2 separate regions of the Homo sapiens genome follow, and region 2 is linked to region 1. Evidence: promoter capture Hi-C in human tissues and cell types (Jung and others, 2019). All regions are on one chromosome and are shown on one strand. Each heading gives the region's core, a stretch centred on a gene start or on the middle of the fragment in contact. The rest is flanking DNA. Distances are from core to core; before and after follow the strand shown.

Region 1 (3,807 bases), core at 1,158-3,657:
ATTAACAATTAACCTGGCAGAGTTAAGAAAAAAGATATAAAATTAGTACCCTGCAATTGTCTGTCTTGATCTGTAAGGTCATCCTTCTTCCAAAATTCCTACCCTATCTTCCATCTAAGGTAAATTCTGAGTCAGCCAGTTCTGGTACTGGATTTGGTTACAGAGAATTGGGATCCAGTTTTGAAAAGGCCGGAAAAACGTGCAAGGTCTAACAAATTCAATTTGGAAATGGCAAGGATTGGTTTTGGAAAGAAAAATGACTGAGGATATGACCGGGTGAAGACAGGGCCAAGCAGCCAAGTTCACATCATTTTCTGGGACGAAGCAGAGAATGGGGAAGACATTTTGGATGGGGTGTTGCAGTCTGTGAAGACTGATGGGGAAAGGGGGTTTTTAGGATGTTTGCAGCGCATTAATAATCCACTCCCCCACCCATCCTGTAACTGCATTCAATTGTTTGGGGTTTTTTTTCCCCCTGTATGCTCATTACGGAGACTAGGCTATGTAAATCCCTAGCTATACTCACATTATATACTACCATTTATTTGGCATTTATGTGTCAGGTATTGTAGTAAGCACTTAAACATGCATTTTCTCATTTGACCCAAAAAAGAAAAGAATACACCAACAAAAAACCTTTGAGTTTGCTATTATTATTAATTACTATTATTATAATTTCAATTTTAGGGATAGGAAATTGAGACTCAGAAAGATAAAATGACATGTCTACATTAATTGGTGGGTCAAGATCTGAAGCCAGGTCTCTGTGATTCCACTGAACAAATTATTTAGCATGAGCCTCCTCCGCCCCAGGCACTCTAGGACCCTGGATCTAGGCATGAACCTGACGAAGTCCCTTTGCTCGCGGAATGGGCTATCCAGAACATCATCAGAGTGAAAGGTGCTATGTACACAGTAAAATGGGGAACGAGCCGCTCAAACCCTACTCCATCAGGACTCTTGGGGGTGGGCGATTTCCGCCCCCGGCCCGGGGCGTTGCATTAGGTCGGGGCCGTCGGGTCGTGGTGCCGGCGGCTGGCTGGGCGCGGGGCTGGCGGTGCGGGTCGCAGGCGGCTCCCAGCGGCAGGACCGGCAGCAGCCCTCCCTCACCCGGGGCGCCGGGACCACGGACGCACCTCACTGTGGTCCGGCCGCTGGCGGCGCTCGGGGACCCATTGGCCCCGGCCCGCGGCAACTGTCGGCCCCGCGCGGCGCCCGCCCTCATGCTGGAGCCCGGGAGTCCCTCACTCCACCTCTCCCTGCCACGCCAAGGGGGCCCGCCCCTCCCAGGCTCTCCTGCCTGGGGCGACCCAGTCCCACGACCCGGTCCGGCCCAGGGACACCCCGACCCACCTCCCCACTCCCGTCCCGTTAGACCGCGACCCGTCCCTGGGACCGCCTAATGTGACACGCCCGGGACCCTCCCTGCAGGCGACTCCCTGCAGGGCCCCCGCCCTGGACACTCCCTCCAGGTGACCCCGTTCCGCTCGCTCCGTGAGGTGACCCCGACCCTCTCCGGACCACCTCCTCAGGTGACCCCGACCCTCTCCGGACCCTCCCCGACCCTCCCCTCAGGTGAACCCGACCCTCCCCGGACCATCCCGTCGGGTGACCCCAACCATCCCCGAACCCCCCCACCCTCCCCTCAGGTGACCCCGACCCTCTCTGGACCCTCCTCACAGGCGGCCCCGCCCCACCCCGGGACCCTCCCGCCAGGTGACCCCGACAAGGCCGGGCCCTCCTGCCTGAGGTGACTCCTACCCGGCTGGGGACCCCCGAGGCCTCCCTCGCTCCTTAAGTGAGGGCGACTCCGCTCATCCCGGGACACCGCGCCTTCTCCTGTAAACTCGACGCCTGCCCCGACGGCCGAATTCCAGAAGGTTCCTCGCCGCCGCCTCGCCTTCGGTCGCGCCCCAGCGCCCGGCCAGAGGCGGGGAAGCCCTTCCCCCGGTGCCAGGAGTGACGAGGGCCCAAGGAAAGACAGTGCGTGAGGAGAAATGGAGAAACGGCCAAAGTCGAGTTTCCGGGTGTGAAGACTTCCACTGCTGCGAAACGCACGTGCGCAGAGTCATTCCTGTCAGAGGCCACCGCGCCCTCGCTCGGCTACCGCCGCTGCGCGCCCCCTGCTGGACATAGGCGCGGGCACAGAGCAGTGCGCAAGCACGGGCTGCCGCGCGGCCGGGTGCGAACCGCGTACTCGCAGGGTGGCTGACTGCGCACGCGCAAGTCAGAGCGCCCTCTGCCGGGCATGGGCGACATGCAGGGGGCACCGCGCAGGCGCGGGGTTGGGCTGGCCGGAGCGGCCGAGGCGGCCGGGGGTGGACCGGGCACCTGCAGGGGCGGCCGACTGCGCACGCGCCATCCGCGGCGCCCCCTGCAGGAGCCGGAGCGGCCGCTGCGTCCGCCAGTAGCGGGTTGCAGGCGCACCCTCCCCTCCAGGGCGGCCACGCAGCTGTCAGTGCCGCCGCCACTGCGAGGCTGGAGCGGAGCCCGGGTGGCCGAGGGAGGGGACCCCGCGAGAGGGCCGCGCGCCGGCCGCCGCCGCCCCGGCGCCCAGGCTCGGTGAGTGCCGCCGGGACCCGCCGCTCGCGCGCTCGTTCCCGGGGCTTGCGGTCCCCACCCGGGTCCGCCCTTCCCACCCTCGCCGGCCAGCTCGGGCCTCGGGCCCCCCCCAGCTCCGGCCTGGCCTGCGGGCCCCTCCCGCGACCCCGCATCCCCTCCGGCCGCGCCCGCGCCCGCCCCTCCTGCCGCGGCCTCGGCTCCGGGCGCTCCCTGCAGGTGCCGCTCCCTCAGCGTCGGCTCCCATCCGAGCCTTGGGCGTGTCCCGCACTGCGGGCAGTGCCTGAGCCCGCGCCGCGCGGGGAAGCTCGACCCTGCGGAGACTCGGCACGGCCCGGGCCCTCTGTGTGCGCCCAGAAGGTGGATATGTAGCGACCGACAGCCCCGGCCCCGAGGGATGCAGGCGTCCGCCGCGCACTTGCGGAGATGGCGCCGCTTTCCGGCCGCAGGGATGCCGGGCGCGCGGTGGCAAAGCCGCCCGGGTTGGATTCCGCCTGCTCCCACCCTCTGGTTCCGAGGAGCCTCCAAATCCGAATCCAAGGCCCACGGTCCGCGGCGGGCGTTTGCTGCGCCCTCCACTGTGTGGGAACGGGAAAGGGGAGCCGCTAGTCCAGGCGGAGGGGCTTGTGGCAGTCGCCGGAGGCCGCGTTCTCGGCGCCCTCGGTCAGGACGCCTGTGTGCATCGCGTCCGTGTGTCTTGGCTCTGTTCCAAGCCGGCTCCACGCTTCAGAAGGGCCGGGACGGCCTTATGGTCAGGGGCGTGGGGAAGGCGCTTGGTGTCTGTCGCACAGATGAAGCCATGTCCTCAGGGGGTAATTGCCGCTTGTTCTCCGGGTTACGTCCTGGACTGTGCACTCCGGGAAGGCGTCGATTGGATCTTGTTGGGGTTTGTGTTCCTGGAACTCCAGAAATGCCCGCTGAGTGAGTAGCCGAGACCCCGCGACAGCATGGAGCCCAGGCAGGGAGCACGTGGGAGAGGTTCACTCTTCTCCTGGGCATCCCGTCATTTTATTCAGATAGTCTGGGCGCTGCCTTTTGTAAACTTGAAAAGACTAAGACTGTTTTAGAAAGTTTGCCTCATGAGAAATGTAAGAGAAAGGGAAAAATAGATAAAAATGGATGTCATGGGAATCTCCCCCACACTTTCATTTTTAACTTCTTAGATAATTTTTCTTTTAAATTGAACCTTTGCTAACTCTACCTGAAAAACAGGACGACGTCTCTCCCTTCCTAAAGTGACTTACCACC
Region 2 (3,807 bases), core at 654-3,153, 580 kb before region 1:
AGCCACACACACACAAAAAAAGATCCACACAACAGCCCCCCCAAAAAAAGATCCGCGCGTCACCCGCCTTCTGGCAGCCCAAGACACTGCGACTCCGGAGGCAGCCCAAATATCCTCGGAAGAGCGCCCCCAGGAGAAACGAGCTTGACCACTATGCGATCATCAATTTTCCACCGACCACTGAGTCTGCCATGAAGAAGACAGAAGACAACACACTTGTCTTCACTGTGGATGTTAAAGCCAACAAGCACCAGCTCAAACAGGCTGTGAAGAACTCTGTGAGGTGGTTGTGGCCCAGGTCAATACCCTGATTGGGCCTGATGGAGAGAAGAAGGCACATGTTCCACTGGCTCCTGATCAGGATGCTTTGGGTGTGGCCAACAAAATGGAGATCATGTAAACCGAGTCCGGCTGGCTAATTCTAAATATATGTATATCTTTTCACCATAAAAAAATCTGCAACATACGACATGCCAGGCACAAGGGGACAAACACTGTCTGATTCCACTTGTATGAGGTCCCCAGGGCAGTCAAACTTATGGGGACAGAAAGTAGAATGGGGGTGCCAGGGGCAGGAGGATGAGGAGGGAGTGTTTCATGGGCACAGAGCAGCCGTTGGGGAAGATGAAAAGGTTCTGGAGATGGACGGTGGTGACGGATGAACAATGAATGTGAACCGCTGACCTGGACACTTCAACATCGAGGCTCAGGGAGAGCAGCTGCTCACAAAGACCAAGGGTTGTAGGATGCAATTTACATGAATGACCAATATGGTAAATTTTACGTCATGTATATTTAACCCTACACACACACACACACACACACACGAGCCATCTGTAACAAACTATACACAAAACACCCCATTTCCCTAACATTATCAGTGAATAAGCTTCTCCCTACAAGGTAGATTTTCTAGTAACTAAAGTTATCCCGCCATGATTCAGAATATGATTTTTATCTGATTCAAAATGTACCCATTTAAGATGGATTCTTTTTTTTAACTCTGTCACCCAGTTGCCCAGGCAGGAGTGCAGTGGCACGATCTCAGTTCATTGCAACCTCTGCCTCCCGGGTTCAAGTGATTCTCCCGCCTCAGCCTCCTGAGTAGCTGGGACTACAGGCGCGCGCCACCACACCTAGCAAATTTTTGTATTTTTTAGTAGAGATGGGGTTTCACCATATTGGCCAGGATGGTCTCGAACTTCCGACCTCATGATCTGCCTGTCTTGGCCTCCCAAAGTGCTGGGATTACAGGTGTGAGCCACCACACCCGGCCAGAATGAATACCTTTTATTTTTTATTTTAGTGGCAGGATTTCACTACAGCCTAAACCGGAGTGTGGTGGCGTGATCACTACAGCCTCTGCCTCCCAGGCTCAAGCCATCTTCCCACCTCAGCCTCCAGAGTAGCTGGGACCACAGGCGCACACTACCATGCCCGGCTAATTTCTGTATTCTTTGTAGAGACGGGGTTTTGCCAGGTTGCCCAGCCTGGTTTTTTAATTAAATTAAAAAAAAATATTTTGGTAATGACAGGGTCTTGCTATATTTCCAGGTTGGTTTTGAACTCCTGGGATCAAGCGATCCTCCCACCTCAGCCTCCCAAGCACCGGATGGATGCCTCTATAAGCTCTTCTCACCCGCTTCCCTGTCCAGAGAAAGGGAGCAACCATCCTCCCTCTGGCTTTAGAAGCAAAAAAAAAAAAAGTCCTAAAATTGATGGTGGTGATACTTGGACAGCTTTCTGAATATATTAAAAGCAATGAATTGTAGACTTAAAAAGTCCTAAAATTGATGGTGGTGATACTTGGACAGCTTTCTGAATATATTAAAAGCAATGAATTGTAGACTTTAGATGGAGAAATCATATGGTATTATGTAAATTATATCTCAGGAAAGTTATTGAAAAACAATCCCTGTCTGGGAATGGTGGCTCACGCCTGTAATCCCAGCACTTTGGGAGGCCGAGGCGGGCAGATCACGGGGTCAGCAGATCGAGACCATCCGGGCTAACACAGTGAAACCCCGTCTCTACTAAAAACACAAAAAATTAACTGGGCGTGGTGGCGGGCGCCTGTAGTCCCAGCTACTCGGAAGGCTGAGGCAGAAGAATCGCTTGAACCCGGGAGGCAGAGGTTGCAGTGAGCTGAGATCGCGCCACTGCACTCCAGCCTGGGCGACAGAGTGAGACTGTCTCAAAAAAAAAAAAAAAAAAAAAGGCCAGGCGTTGTGGCTCACGCCTGTAATCCTAGCACTTCGGGAGGCCAAGGTGGGCAGATCACCTGAGGTGGGGAGTTTGAGACCAGCCCGACCAACATGGAGAAACCCCGTCTCCACTAAAAATACAAAAATAGCCAGGCATGGTGGCATATGCCTGCAATCCCAGCTACTCGGGAGGCTGAGGCAGGAGCTCACGCTATTGCACTCCAGCCTGGGCAACAAGAGCAAAACTCCATCTCAAAAAAACAAAAACAAACAAACAAACAATGGTCAGAATGACTCAGATTCCAAGGGTCTCTTGGTGGAAAAGTGTTTTTTTTTTTTTTTAAGACAGAGTCTCACGGCCACCCAGGCTGGAGTGCAATGGCGTAATCTTAGCTCACTGCAACCTCCGCCTCCTGGGTCAAGCGATTCTCAGGCCTCAGCCTCCTGAGTAGCTGGGATTATAGGCACCTGAAACCACACATGGCTAAATTTTGTTTTGTATTTTTAGTAGAGATGGAGTTTCACCATTTTGGCCAGGCTGGTCTCGAACTCCTGGCCTCTAGTTACCTACCTGCCTCCTAAAGTGCTGGGATTACAGGTGCTCTACTAAACATCAGAAGCTTCTTGTTCTTGGGTTTGGTTTACTCATCAAAGAAGGGGTGGCATGCATTATATGTTGTGAAATTTTCTAAGTTCTAATATCATATTCTAAAAATATATAGAAACTATTTCAGAATGTTAAGACTATAATACTAAAATGACCCCTAATCCTGCCACTCAAATGCACAACTACTTCCATTGTTGAACTAATGCCTTTAAGGCGCTTGCTTTTCTGTAGCACACACTGCGTTCAATCATGTCTGCTACTGTATCCCCCTCGAGAGCAGGAAGCCCCCACCAGAGGCCACCTGGAGTCTTTCCAAAGGACCATTACATAAGGCAGGACCACCCGTCACGGGGGAAGCGCAAATTTAAATCCTCAGCAGCAATACTCCATATGGCCACAAGATGGTGGTGTTGCTCCTGAAATGTTCCTATTGCCTTGGTAAAATTACACGGGTGGCAATGTTTTCAAACAAGAATTTGGAAATTTTTCCAAGTTGGAAAAAAAATTCAAGAGGATTTCCAAAATGTTATATTTACAAAAAGTAGTACTTCGAGCTGGGCATGGTGGTGCGTATGTGTAGTCCCAGCCACTTGGGAGGTTGTGGCAGGAAAATGGCTTGAGCCCAGGAGTTTGAAGCCAATCTGGGCAACATCACATGACCCCATCTCAAGAAACAAAAAATAGGCCAGACGCGGTGGCTCACGCCTGTAATCCCAGCACTTCGGCAGGCCAAGGCAGGCGGATCACGAGGTCAAGAGATCGAAACCATCCTGGCAAACATGGTGAAACCCCGTCTCTACTAAAAATACAAAAATTAGCTGGGTGTGGTGGCGCATGCCTGTAATCCCAACTACTCGGGAGGCTGAGGCAGGAGAATCGCTTGAACCCAGGGGGCAGAGGTTGCAGTGAGCCGAGACCATACCACTGTACTCCAGCCTGGGAGACAAAGCAAGACTCCGTCTCAAAAAAAAAAAAAGAAACAAAAAATTAAAACAA

What was found. The method cuts DNA at HindIII sites, captures the fragments that hold promoters and counts their contacts. A contact is called where the count stands out against the background at its distance.
Region 2: a contact is called between a fragment that was not itself captured here and the fragment with the promoter of ABCA3 in region 1, in 2 of the 25 tissues and cell types used here (dorsolateral prefrontal cortex and hippocampus).

The regions. Positions count from the first base shown.
Region 1 is chr16:2,339,328-2,343,134 of GRCh38, reverse strand. ABCA3 (ATP binding cassette subfamily A member 3) reads left to right here and starts at 2,407. Exons shown (of 33, transcript NM_001089.3): 1 at 2,407-2,562. It also overlaps the pseudogene ABCA17P. RefSeq lists silencers at 2,097-2,556, 2,727-2,786. The HindIII fragment of the contact is 11,234 bases long and covers 1-3,807 here.
Region 2 is chr16:2,919,251-2,923,057 of GRCh38, reverse strand. The region is part of intron 2 of FLYWCH1 (FLYWCH-type zinc finger 1); the gene reads right to left. It also overlaps the pseudogene RPL23AP86. Among named protein-coding and RNA genes, the nearest start is that of FLYWCH1, 9.2 kb to the right of the region's middle. The HindIII fragment of the contact is 4,857 bases long and covers 1-3,807 here.